Regions from separate parts of the Homo sapiens genome. Here all the other regions are linked to region 1. The links are contacts of gene promoters, found by promoter capture Hi-C in blood cells and fetal thymus (Javierre and others, 2016). All regions are on one chromosome and are shown on one strand. Each heading gives the region's core, a stretch centred on a gene start or on the middle of the fragment in contact. The rest is flanking DNA. Distances are from core to core; before and after follow the strand shown. Region 1 holds the start of CNN2 (calponin 2). Region 2 holds the start of GAMT (guanidinoacetate N-methyltransferase). Region 3 holds the start of BSG (basigin (Ok blood group)). Region 4 holds the start of POLRMT (RNA polymerase mitochondrial).

Region 1 (3,144 bases), core at 145-2,644:
GCCCCGGGCTGGGGACCCTGGCTCAGGCCTTGACCACCCCAAGCCTCAGCCTCCCTTTTTGGCCAAGAGCTGGTCTGAAGGCTTGCAGGGGCTCACAGCGGGGAAGCAGGAATTCTCCCTCCAGTCTGCCGGCCCTGGAGTGCCGCCGGGCAGGTGGCTGTTGGGGCTGGCAGGGCCGGTGCCCTCAGAGCGTGCAGAGGCAGTTTCCCCTGCAGAAGTCAGCTGTAAGGACACCTTCCCAGGTGCCCAGTGGGCGTCGGGGGAGGGGGTGGGCGGGGACGACACCCCCCTCCAGCTGGAAGGTCCTGGAGGGTCAGGTCCCGGTCCTGTCCGTGGGTCTCGCATCACAACCCCCGCCCCCCACTTTCCCTGGGAATCCTGTCCAGGACCCTGCTGTGTGACCCTGCAGAAGTGTCTGGTCCTCTCTGAGCTAGAACCACAAGTGCTCTCTTAAAAAGTGTCTCCCCTAGCCCTGGCTTGTTTTTAATTATAGAGATGGGGTTTCGCCATGTTGCCCAGACTGGTCTCGAACTCGCTGGGCTCAAGCCATCCACCCAGCTCCGCCCCCCAAAGTGCTGGGATTACGGGCGTGAGCCCCCGCGCCCTGCCGGGCCCCAGCTCTTCTTTCGAGGCTGCAAAACCCCACATATCTCAGGGCCACCTTCAGAGAACCTCTTTGTTATCCGTTTAAATTAGTCAGATGGGAGACAAAGACCGTGCAAAGCGGCTACCGCCCCTCCCCCCAAGACACCCCCAAGGTGTCCCAGAGGCCAGGAAATTCCTGTTTGTGGGGGGGTAACACTTCTCAAAAACCACTCGGCCATGCCCCTTCCCCTCCCAAAGCTAAGAGGCCCCAAAAGCAGAAGTGTGGCCAGGAGATGACGGGGTTGCTGGGGTCCCCCCCAGACCCCCAGAGCGTTGTCGGACCTTGAACGGACCTTCTCGAAGGTTGAGTGGGCGCCAGGGGCTTCACACGTGGGGGTCCTGGGGCCATGGCGAGGGGACGAAGTCAGACCCAACTACCCCTAGATGTTGGGGGGGGGAATGGGTCACTCGTCCCCCAGATCTCAGACCTGGGTGCTCCCCAAGATTCGCGGGAGCCTCAGGGGGTGCCCGCAGACATCCCCCCACCAGGCGTCAGGGAGAACAAGGGCCCGTCCGCCCCGGGTCTCCAAGCTCCCTGCCCGGGAGGTGCCGGGGGCGCCTGGGGGCTCCTGCACCGGTCGGAGCGTGCGACGGCCGCGCTGTCGGGGGGACAAGGGGCGCCCCTCACTCACCCGGTTCTTGACCTCGGCCGACAGCCCGTACGAGGGGCCCTTGTTGAACTGCGTGGAGCTCATGGCTGGCGGGCGGGCGGCGGGACGGGGCCGCACAGGACGGGACGGGACGGGACCGCCGGGCTGGCGCGGGGTTGGGACGCGCCGGGCTCCGCGCGCCACGCCCCCGCCGCTGATTGGCCCGGAGCGCAAATGTCCTTATAAGGCCTGGAGGCGCCGAATTCCTGCGGCCGCGGACTTCCTGAGCCCCCTCGGTCGCCCCCGGACCCCCGCCTGGGCACAGCACCCCCGTCACCAGAGGCCTGGAGGGGCCCCTCGCCCCCTTTGATGCCACGGGAAACTGAGGCAGGGAGGGGCCGAGGCCGCCGGGACGTGGCACTCCTGCGGGCTCTCTGCTCAGAGCTCGTGGGCGGCTCTCACTCTTTCTCCATCTCAGACTTCTCTTCTGCCAGAAAGGGGAGGGGAGAAGGCTACCTTTGGGGCAGGAATGAGGGCCCCTCTCTGCCACTTAGAGGCGTCTAACCCCTTCCCAGGGAACTCTACTAGCTGGGAGGTGGACCAGGGAACCAGGGCAGGTTCCTCAGAGAAGGGGCCATTGGAGCTGGGGCTTTGTTGGATGAGTAGGAGTTTGTCAGTCCAAAAGAGAATAGGATTCTTACTGGGTGCGGTAGCTTGCACCTGGAGTTCTAGCTACTTGGGAGGCTGAGGCCGAAGGGGGAGGATCCGTTGAGCCCAAGAGGTCGAAGCTGCAGTGAGTTATCATCACAACATGACGCTCCAGCCTGGGCAGCAGAGCAAGAGCCTCTCTCTAAAAATAAATAAATAAATAAAAATAAAAATCCGAGTGGCTCACGCCTGCAATCCCAGCACTTTGGAAGGCCGAGGCGGGCGGATCACTTGAGGTCAGGAGTTCCAGACCAGCTTGGCTAACATGGCGAAACTCCGTCTCTACTAAAAATACAAAAATTAGCCGGGCATGGGGGCACATGCCTGTAATTCCAGCTACTGAGGAGGCTGAGGTGGGAGGATCACTTGAAGCCAGGAGGCGGAGGTTGTAGTAAGTCGAGATCGCGCCACTGCACTCCAGCCTGGGCGACAGAGCAAGACTCCGTCTTAAAAAAAAAAACAAAAAAAAAAAACACAAAAAAACCCTAATAATAATAAATTATTAAAAAGTCTCCGGGACAGTCTCCTGCCAGGCAGTGCTGGCTCTCAGGAGACCTTAGCTCTGGCCCAGCCCATGCCCAGGAAGACAGAGCTGGCACAGACCAACCCCCAACCCGGATTCCCTGTATGAGCCAGCACAGGCGGAACCCCCCCACCCCGCCCACCCTGTTTCCCTATATGAGCAAGTACAGGACAGAATGAGAGGCTTGGGGCTGGAGGAACTGGAGGGAGAGTTGGGGCTCTGTCGGAGGAATCAAGGAAAGCTGCATGTAAGAGGAGGCAAGGGAGATGGGGTTTTGAAGCATCAATAGGAGTTTGACACATTTTATTTTATTTTATTTTATTTTATTTTATTTTATTTTATTTTATTTTATTTTTAGTAGAGATGGGGTTTCACCATGTTGGCCAGGCTGGTCTCGAACCCCTGACCTCAGGTGATCCACCCGCCTCAGCCTCCCAAAGTACTGTGATTACAGGCTTGAACCACTGCACCTGGCCGACCCATGTCATTTTAGACCAGTGCTGACCATTTCTGTTATTCTGAGATGAAGGAAATTTTCAATGTGGCACTATCTACTACTGTAGCCACTGGCCATGGGGCTACTGAGCACTGGAAGTGTGGCTGGTGCCATCAGGGAAGCAAATACTTCATGTTCTTTTTATTTTATTTTATTATTATTTTTTGAGACGGAGTCTCGCT
Region 2 (2,973 bases), core at 219-2,718, 370 kb before region 1:
CAAAACAGCTTCTGACCAGGACATGCCTGTCCTGGGGCAGAATGGGGGTGTCTCCTAGAGGACACGTGGGCTCAGCTTGAGACAGAACGAGAAAGCGGCCTGACCAGGAGAGAGGCTGTCTGGGCAAGGGGAAGAGCGTGTGCCAAGGCCCGGGGCTAAGGAGCTGTGCAAGAGGTGGCAGGGGCATGTGGAGGCGTTGAGCAGGCAGTGATGGGGCAGGCAGCTACCCAGACAAGGTGGCGCAGGGAAGGCCGCGCGCGGGAGCTGTTTCCGAGGCTGCCTGCGTTCACACCGTGGCCCTGCTGCAACCTGTGAACCTCAACCTCTCTGGGCCTCAGTTTCCCTCGTGTTAAATGGGCATAATAACTGCATCTGTTAACCCGTGCAGAACGCACGGCAGGCAGGCAGGCAGGCAGGCAGGCAGTGCTCAGGGCTCATGACTGTGGCCCCACGTTCAGAGGGGGAAGGAAACCGGCTATCAGAGCCAGGACGCCACCGCAGCGGGCTTGGGGGCCCCCAGGAAACAGGCGGGGGGTGTGCTTGACCCTAAGGGGCTACCCTGGGCTGGGGGAGGCCTAATTCCACCCCCGCACACCCCAGCTGCAGGGCCGCCGGAGGAAAGGGCACTGCTGGGATTGAGTCCTGGTCTCCAGAACTGGAGGCGTCTTTGGGCGGAATCCCCCATTAGGGACCCGGGGTCTCAGATGACCCCCAGCCTATGGGGGTGTGACATGGGCTCATGAAAGGGGGGCATCAGAGCTCTAATGCTGGGTCCCCACCCTCGTGGCCACCAGACCACCGGCTTTGCTTCTCAAAGCCTCAGTTTCCACATCTGTAAAATGACAGTCGGCTGCTCTATGGAGTAGCCATTCATTTTTATTCCTTAATAAACTTGCTTTCAAAAAAGAAAGGAAGGAAGGAAGGAAGGAAAAACGACAGTCATCATAGAACCTGGCGGGCGCGGTGGCTCACGCCTGTAATCCCAACACTTTGGGAGGCTGAAGCGGGAGGATCGCTTGCGCCCAGGAGTTTGAGACCAACCTGGGCAACATAGCAAGACCCCGTCTCTATTAAAAAAAGACAGAACTCACTGTAGCATCTTCTGAAGATTAAATGATTTTAAACACTTAAAGCACTTCCAACAGCGCCTGGAAGATCCTCAGATTCTCACACCCCAGCGAGGAGGGGGCCTTTCTGCGGTGCTGACAGATGAGGAATCTATGGCGCGTAAGCGGCAAGGCGGGGATTCCAGTCCCCAGCCTGCAGGTTCGCGTCCCCGGGCGCGGGGCTGCGGTGCCCGCTCCGCAGAGGGGGCACCGAGGCTCCTTGGGGAGGGGGCGGCCGGGGCCCCGACCCCACTCCCGCCACCTCTCGCGTGGCCGCCGCTAGAGGCCGCTCCCGGAGCCGCGCGCGCGCGTCCTCTCGCGGGTCCGCCCCCCGGGCCTGTTGGACCCGCCCCCGGCCCACAAGCCCCTGCAGGGAGCGGGCCCGGGCGGCGCGCGATCGAGGTCGGGTCGCCGTCCAGCCTGCAGCATGAGCGCCCCCAGCGCGACCCCCATCTTCGCGCCCGGCGAGAACTGCAGCCCCGCGTGGGGGGCGGCGCCCGCGGCCTACGACGCAGCGGACACGCACCTGCGCATCCTGGGCAAGCCGGTGATGGAGCGCTGGGAGACCCCCTATATGCACGCGCTGGCCGCCGCCGCCTCCTCCAAAGGTAGCCCCCGCCCGGCCTGCACCGCCCCCGGGGGCGCAGGGGAAACTGAGGCCGGGGCTGCCCCGACCCGGGGACTCTGCAGCCCACCCTCCCGCCGGGGCGCCTCTGTCTCCTCGCCTGGGAAGTGGGGCTGCAGGTGGGGGCACACGGAGGCGTTCACGGGGAGTGCGGCAGGCGTGGGGCCCGCACACGTTAGGCACCGCCTAAGTACCAGAAACTTCCTCTCCAGGGGGAGTGAGGCCCCCCGCTCTCCAGATGGGGACCTCAAACGTGAGACCTGGGTGAAACTGGGTGGAACCGGGTCCCCAGCTCCCTGTCTGAGGTCGGGAGGAAGGGGTCGTGCCAGGGAGAGGCTGCCCTTCTGCCTGCCTGGGAGAGCAGCCCCGACTCGCCCGGCTAAGAATAGCACTCGGAAAGCTGAGCTCAGGGAGACAGCTGTCCCCGGGGTGGCCCTGGCCTGCCTGGCGTCAGACGCTAAGGGCTGCTAAGAAAGGACTCCCTGGCCCCACACAGGCCCCGTCCAGGGGTCGGGCCTCAGTGTTCCCACCCTGAAAATGGGCACGTCCAGTGTCCAGTGCCAATCAGGATTGAGCGGGGGGCCCATGTGTGGCCCACTGGGGACCAGTCCTTCCCCTCCCAGATAGTCTCAAGTCCAGGTCTTGCCTGGCCACTCTTGCAAATCCAACTTTCGGATAGAGGGAGGGGGAGAGAAAAGTAACTAACCCGAGAGATAAGGGACCCGGGACAAACAGCGTGGGCTGGGCTCAAAGTCCAAGGCTCTCGCCTCCCCACAGGCCTGGCCCCAAAAGCGGCCGTCTTCGGCCTCCCTGGCTGGTCATCCTCTCTCTGGCCGCTGGCCAGGGCCCACGCTGTTCCCGCTCAGGACTACTGTGTTCCGCCCGCCTCTGTCCATGCTGGCCCAGGGTGCCCTCCCGTCCTGTGGCAAATGTGACTCACATAGCCTAGTTCAGCCCTGCACCCCCTCCTCCAAGCAGACCCCCAGCTCAGCCCTGCCCTACCCTGTGCCCCCTCCTCCAGGAAGCCTCCCCAGCCCTGCTCTGCACCCCCTCTTCCAGACAGCCTCCCCAGCCCTGCATCCCCTCCTCCTGGCAGCCTCTCCAGCCCTGCCCCGCACCCCCTCCTCCAGGCAGCCTCCCCAGCATTGCCCCACACCCCCTCCTCCAGGCAGCCTCTCCAGCCCTGCTCTGCACGCCCCCCTCCAGGCAGACCCCCAGCCCAGCCCTGCGCCCCCTCCTCCA
Region 3 (3,145 bases), core at 397-2,896, 450 kb after region 1:
TCCCTGTTACCCAGGCTGGAGTGCAGTGGCATGATATCAGCTCACTGCAACCTTCACCTCCCAGGTTCAAGCGATTCTCTTGCCTCAGCTTCCTGAGTGGCTGGGATTACAGGCGTGCGCCAACACGCCCAGCTAATTTTTGTATTTTTAGTAGAGATGGGGTTTCACCATGTTGGCCAGGCTGGTCTTGAACTCCTGACCTCAGGTGATCCACCCGCCTCAGCCTCCCAAAGTGCTGGGATTACAGGTGTGAGCCACCACGCCCGGCCTCACTATAAATCTTTAACCCAGAACCAAATGGGGGTCTCAACAAAGGAAGAAATTTTCTATGAAGCAAGAAAGGATGTCATGCTTTTCTCCCGGAAAAACACACCTCAATCCATTTCCCAAATGCGCTCTCCAAACCACGTTTGCCCACCCTCAACACACGGCCCTCCTAAGACAGCACTGGAAACCGAATGCGGGTCAGAGTCGGCTAAAAACGACTTTCTCACTATTTCCTGCGCTGAATCGGGTGGCCAGGGCCCCCTCACTGTGACCTTGGAACCTCGACTTCCCACAGGGCTGTTTCCTCGCCTGTAAAGGAGGAGGGGCGTTCAGAGACCACCTCATTCTGGGTGCTGAATCCAGGCAGAATCAGAGGGAGATTCCGCCTTCCCTTCCACGCAGGGCCCCTCGAGGGAGCCTGCGAGGTCTTAAGAGTCTGGGAGAACACCCGGGGGCAGGTGCACGCCCTAGGCAAGACGCCAGGGCTAAATCCCGTGAAGAACGGTAATCCCTTCCCGATCCGGAGGGCTGACCCACTCAGAGCCTCCATGTGCTCTTGGAGGACAAAAGCCCCTTTTCCAGAAGGGAGCGCCAAGATGATCGCTCCAGGCCGCACGGGCCCTTGCGGGGGCCCCAGAGAGTCTCAGGGGAGGGTCTCTGACCCTAACACTCGCAGGCAGGGTGGACCCGTCTCCAGATTCCACGCCCAGGCCGCTTTCCCCAGGTCCTGCGGAGTCCAGCCCCAGCAGGACGGGTTGGGCAGGCACCAACCAGCCCCTGACCCCTGGCTCCAGGCCAAAGGGGACGCTCACCCAGGCTTTGGGTCTCCCTTCTCCTGGCCGATGGGACCGGCGGGCGGGCCACCTCCAACCGCCTTCGCAGACGCCCTCACCCAGGAAGCAGGTCACCCCCAACCCCAGGTGACCGAAAAGCAAGACGCCCACCTCCCCTGACCAAGACCGGCCTGGCCAGGACCCCCTGGCTCCCGCCTCCAAGCAGGGAGCTTCACGCCCACACACAGAGGCCGGGCTCGAGGCCGGAGCGCCCGGGGGAGCCCGGCAGGCCGCGCCGGGAGGAACCTCTAGTCCCCCCTCAAACCCTGGGACTTCACCCCCAAGCTCCATGCTGGCGCGGGAAGCCCCCGGGGCCGGCCTTTCGCACCCCAGGCCGCCCCGCGCCGAGGCCCCAGGCTCCCGTCGGCTTCGGGTCGGCACCGCGGCCTCCATTCCCGGCCCCTGCAGGACCGCACCCCCGCCCCCTACCCGCTCCTCACCAGCCCCGGAGGCTCCGTGGGTGCCCAGCAGCGCGAATCCCAGCAGCACGAACAGCGCAGCCGCCATGATTCCTATTCCTCGCCGGTCCTACAACCTCCAACCGCTGCCGCCGCCGCCCGCGGCCGCTATAAAAAGCGGCGGAGGCGCGGACCGGGCGCGCGCACGCACGGCGTCATCTCGGGGGCGGGGCGAGCGCCGGGGACGCCGGTCGCCCCGCCTGCGCACGCGCGCACACGCTCGCATGTACGCGCCGGCTCCGGCAGGCTCACGCTACGGAATCCGGGCGGCGGCGCACGTGACCCGGCGTTGCTAGGAAACGGGAGTGGGGCCTGCGGGGACGCGGCTGGAGCCTGCGCATTTCTTCCTTCCTGCTTTCAAAGTTGCAATGAGCGCAGAGCGGTGCGCCCGAGGGGGTTGAAGCGTTGAAAGTGTGTTACCCAGATTTTATCTGAGTTAAACACGGGCCGGCCGCTGTGGCTCACGTCTGTACTCCCAGAGCCTTGGGAGGTCGAGGCGGGAAGATCGCTTGAGCCCGGGAGCTCGAGACCAGACGCGGCAACATGGCGAGACGCACATCTCTGCCTTTAAAAATGTACATATATATATATATATATGAACGTATTAATAAATTAGGTGGGAGGAAGTGACCTCCTCCGCCCAAATAAAAATACTTAAAGGGCACTTGAATCTGGATCTCAGAAAATGAATAATTTCTTAGTATAAACGTCCTGTGCACCATTTGGTTGGGACAAGTAAGTTCCTCTTCAGAAACTCAACTTCCAGGTCTAAAGTTGTCAATCAACCTTACCCCCTTCTTCTTTCCTCGCAGGTGGCGCGTTTACCCTATTTTAAAAAAGTTTTAAGTTTTAGCCAACCGGGATCAGCTTAGATTGTGGGCGTCCAACCCCAGCCAACAGGGAAAGGACAGAGGAACAGAAGCTCCCTTCCTTTGTCCCGTGTGCTCTGGAGATTGCATCCCACGCAGGCAGCCCCCTTCCGTACAAGTAAAGTGGTCTCGCTGAGAAATTTTCTAAGTGCTGGTTTCTCTTTGCGGGACCGACTCGCCGCCCCCAAATATCCCATTTGGATCCCATTCTGTTTCAGGAGAGGCTGGCGGTTACCTTTCTTGGGGAGACGCGTCCGACTGCTTCATTGTGGGGGCCTCAGGAGCGGAGGATCGGGTCCCGCCCGAGGTGACGCGTAAACCCAGACTCTCAGCAACGCGGGTAGGAAGGACCCTTGAAGTTCCGCGGCGACCACGGTGAGAAAAGTCGCTATTGGGGCGACACAGGTGGGGGCGTCTCTTGGAGGTTGAAAGTGTGTGTTGGAAGTTAAACTCGGAGTCGCAATGCAAGAGGACCGCAGACTAAGCCGAACGCGAAGGGCTAACTGGAAAGGGGCAGGAATGTGGCTACACTGGCGGGAAGAGCCCGTGGCGACGGGAGGGGGATGTGCAGAGTGGGTGGCAGGTGCCATCTCTGCAGATCAGGACCGGCGGGAAACTTGTTTACTGAGACTCAGACGGGGAGGCCCAGAGGGTGAGGAAGTCAGGTTGGCCTTGGAAGTAGGAAACGAAGAACGAGGGCGCTGAACGAGCCAAACCT
Region 4 (3,203 bases), core at 217-2,716, 390 kb after region 1:
TCTTTTTTTCCTTTGGTGGAGACTGGGTCTCAGTATCTCGGTTGCCCAAGGCTTGTCTGGAACTCCTGGGCTCAAGCGATCCTCCCGCCGCAGCCTCCCAAAGTGCTGGGATTACAGGCCTGAGGCACTGAACTGACCTCCCTTTGCACTTTTTTTTTTTTGAGACAGGTTCTCGCTCTGTCACCCAGGCTGGAGTGCAGTGGCGAGATCTTGGCTCACTGCAACCTCCGCCTCCCGGGTTCAAGCGATTCTCCTGCCTCAGCCTCCCGAGTAGCTGGGATTACAGGTGCCCGCCACCACCCCCGGATAATTTTTGTATTTTTACTAGAGACGGGGTTTTGCCATGTTGCCAGGCATGCTTGCGTATTTGCCAAGCTGGTCTCGAACTCTGACCTTAGGTGATCCGCCCGCCTCAGCCTCCCAAAGTGCTGGGATGACAGGCCTGAGCCACCAAACCAGCTCCCCTTTGCAACTGGGATATTAGCCTGGAACACAGTTACCCCCAGATATTCCTATTCTCACCCTTCCCAAGCCTACTGCCCCACAGCAGGCGCTCCCGCCTCTGGCCTGCTGCCCCGGCTGAACGACACAGGTGGGCACACCTTCCAGGTTCCATTCTAAAGCTCCCGCCCTGCTCCTCCTAGGCAGGATCACGCGGAGACCAGGGCAGGCTCTAGGCTCCGAGGTTTATTTCATTCCCTTGACCTCACCCCACTTAGCAGGTGAATCCAAGCCTGCCGCTCCATTCGGCTCCTGCCCCTGAGGGCTTGGGGATTGGAGGGTAAACTGAAGCTGGAGGCTGGGAGTCTCGCGGACTGGGGCTTTCTCTCCTTGCAGCCTCCCTGAGGTCGCACGTGCTGTGTCTTCCAGCAACTTGGTGGCCCTCTCTGAGCCTCAGCTTCCTCCATGATAGACGGCATCCTAATGACTCTTACCCAAAAGTTGTCGTTGGAGCAATGAAGGTTGCGGACAGGAATCTCTAAATTGCAGATGCTGTCCTCGTTATTAGATGAGTATGCCTTGAAAAAAAAAAAAAAAAAGCCGGGCACGGTGGCGGCGTCTGCAATCCCAGCGCTTTGGGAAGCCGAGGGGCGAGGATCTCTTTACCCCAGCAGTTCGAAGCTGCACTGAGCTATGATCACGCCACTGCACTCCAGCCTGGGCCACAACGCGTCCAAAACAAAACCAAAAAAGAAAGAAAAACAGAAAAAAAGTCCGGATTTGAGGTCCTCGGGAAAACAGCCTGAGAGTGCCTCCCAGTTGCCACGGCAACAGCTCTGTCCCGCCCCCTCCCTTTAAAAACAGCAGGAGGAACCAATCAGAGCGTCCACCGGCGCATGCCTTCGCGCCTCCGCTGCATCCTGGGAGTCTACTTCCGGCTGGGGTTTCCCTTCGCAGCCTCCGTCGACCATGAAACCACAACTCCCGGCAGGCGGCGCGGGCGCATGCGCAGGCGCGGGCCGGTGGGGTGGCCTGGAGCGGCGTGCGTAATGTCGGCACTTTGCTGGGGCCGCGGAGCGGCGGGGCTCAAACGAGCCCTACGGCCTTGCGGCCGCCCGGGACTCCCCGGCAAAGAAGGTAACACAAAGGGAGACGGCCAGGCAGCCCGGGGGCCACGGCGTGGGCTCCTCCCCGCGCGGCCGGGGCCTTTGGCGCTTTGACCTTTGCCTCTTTGCACCTGGGCGTGCGCAGCCCACCGACCCGGCCCCGCTTTCCACTCGCCCTTGCCCGCTTTTCGACTGAGGCTCCTCCGTGCAGTCTGACCTTTGACTCGTGGTTTCTTATGCAGCCTCCTGACCCCAGGTGTGGTGTTTAGGGCTCTTAACCTTTGACCTGCTGCACCTCGAGTGCGAGGAACCCTCTCTCGGCGGTTCCGCGCCCGTGTTCGCCGCGGCGGGGCCCTTCCACCTTCGCTGTCTTAGTTTCTTTCCAACTTAAGCCCGTGCTCCGAGAGTTTCCGCTGCGTTTAGGGCTCCTTTGCCCTTCGACCCTTCGGCTTCTGCCTTTATGGAGGCCCCCGCCCACACGCCCGGCCCCGCTCAGCCGCTCTCGTCTTTCCCGCAGGGACCGCCGGTGGCGTCTGCGGCCCCAGGAGGAGCTCGTCCGCCAGCCCCCAGGAGCAAGACCAAGACCGCAGGAAGGACTGGGGCCACGTGGAGCTGCTGGAGGGTGAGCGCGACCCCCACGGCGGCCCGGGAGAGGAGAGTCCGCTCCCTGCTGCCGGGAGAAAAGGCAAAGGCTCAGATTCTGAGACAGGCTGAGGGCGGTCTCCACCTCTCGGGTCCCAGGACACGCCCAGACGGCGTTGCTGAAACATCTCTTGCACCGCTCATGGGCCCTGTCCTTGCTGAGCAGGCTCCTTCCTGGAGCTCTCGTAATTCCCCCTCCCCAGAACCCCACCAGGTGCTCCCACTTTCCAGGGACATAGGTGAGGCCCAAGATTATGTCTGGAGAGACCCCCCCCCCGGCCCCGCCGCCAAGGCCACATGTGCAGAGCCAGGATGTGAACCCTGAACTGACTCAGCTGTCCTGGCTTGGCTCTGGGGGGTAGGCGCCTAATGGAGACTGGATGACTGCGAAACTTGGGAGGGACAGCCCAGGCTCCAGCGGTGGCAGGCCCTCGTCCTGGCCTGGCTGGTGGTGTGGGAGGGAGGTGGGAGCTTCCCTGTGCTTGCTTCCCGCCGGTGCTTCTGTCCCACATCCTGTCTGCGTCCATTAGGCAGCCGGGAAGGGAGAGGCGGGAGAACCTTTATAAAGGGAAAAAACCTGGCCAGGTGCGGTGGCTCACGCCTGTAATCCCAGCACTTTTGGGTGGCCGAGGTGGGCGGATCAAGAGGTCGGGGGTTCGAGGCCTGGTGCGGTGGCTCACGCCTGTACTCCCAGCACTTTTGGGTGGCCAAGGTGGGCGGATCAAGAGGTCAAGGGTCCGAGGCCTGGTGCGGTGGCTCACGCCTGTAATCCCAGCACTTTGGGAGGCCGAGGCGGGCGGATCAAGAGGTCATGAGTTCAAGACCAGCCTGGCCAACATGGTGAAACACTGTCTCTACTAAAAATACAAAAATTAGCTGGGCATGGTGGTGAACGCCTGCAGTGCCAGCTACTCAGGAGGCTGAGGCAGGAAAATCGCTTGAACCCGGGGAGACTGAGACAGGAGAATCGCTTGAACCCGGAAGGTGGAGGTTGCGGTGAGCCGAGATCATGCC

What was found. The method cuts DNA at HindIII sites, captures the fragments that hold promoters and counts their contacts. A CHiCAGO score of 5 or more calls a contact.
Region 2: a contact is called between the fragment with the promoter of GAMT here and the fragment with the promoter of CNN2 in region 1, in 2 of 17 cell types (M0 macrophages and monocytes). The highest score is 7.7, in M0 macrophages.
Region 3: the fragment with the promoter of BSG here is called in contact with the fragment with the promoter of CNN2 in region 1 in 1 of 17 cell types (erythroblasts); the score reaches 7.9 in erythroblasts.
Region 4: a contact is called between the fragment with the promoter of POLRMT here and the fragment with the promoter of CNN2 in region 1, in 1 of 17 cell types (non-activated CD4 T cells). The highest score is 7.0, in non-activated CD4 T cells.

Annotation. Positions count from the first base shown.
Region 1 is chr19:1,024,858-1,028,001 of GRCh38, reverse strand. CNN2 (calponin 2) reads right to left here and starts at 1,394. Exons shown (of 7, transcript NM_004368.4): 1 at 1,278-1,394. The coding sequence starts at 1,340. RefSeq lists a silencer at 1,107-1,746 and an enhancer at 1,737-2,468. The HindIII fragment of the contact is 13,555 bases long and covers 1-3,144 here.
Region 2 is chr19:1,400,037-1,403,009 of GRCh38, reverse strand. GAMT (guanidinoacetate N-methyltransferase) reads left to right here and starts at 1,468. Exons shown (of 6, transcript NM_000156.6): 1 at 1,468-1,714. The coding sequence starts at 1,534. RefSeq lists a silencer at 1,151-1,730. The HindIII fragment of the contact is 12,931 bases long and covers 1-2,973 here.
Region 3 is chr19:571,097-574,241 of GRCh38, reverse strand. BSG (basigin (Ok blood group)) reads right to left here and starts at 1,646. Exons shown (of 9, transcript NM_001728.4): 1 at 1,541-1,646. The coding sequence starts at 1,607. BSG-AS1 (BSG antisense RNA 1) reads left to right here and starts at 1,994. Exons shown (of 3, transcript NR_184018.1): 1 at 1,994-2,133; 2 at 2,646-2,802. RefSeq lists silencers at 1,306-1,485, 1,656-1,875 and enhancers at 2,696-2,745, 2,826-3,145. The HindIII fragment of the contact is 7,021 bases long and covers 1-3,145 here.
Region 4 is chr19:631,800-635,002 of GRCh38, reverse strand. It overlaps POLRMT (RNA polymerase mitochondrial), which reads left to right and starts at 1,466. Exons shown (of 21, transcript NM_005035.4): 1 at 1,466-1,578; 2 at 2,065-2,169. The coding sequence starts at 1,491. LOC105372234 (a long non-coding RNA gene) reads right to left here and starts at 1,539. Exons shown (of 2, transcript XR_936226.2): 1 at 1,108-1,539; 2 at 1-1,019. RefSeq lists silencers at 1,253-1,512, 1,523-1,682. The HindIII fragment of the contact is 10,035 bases long and covers 1-3,203 here.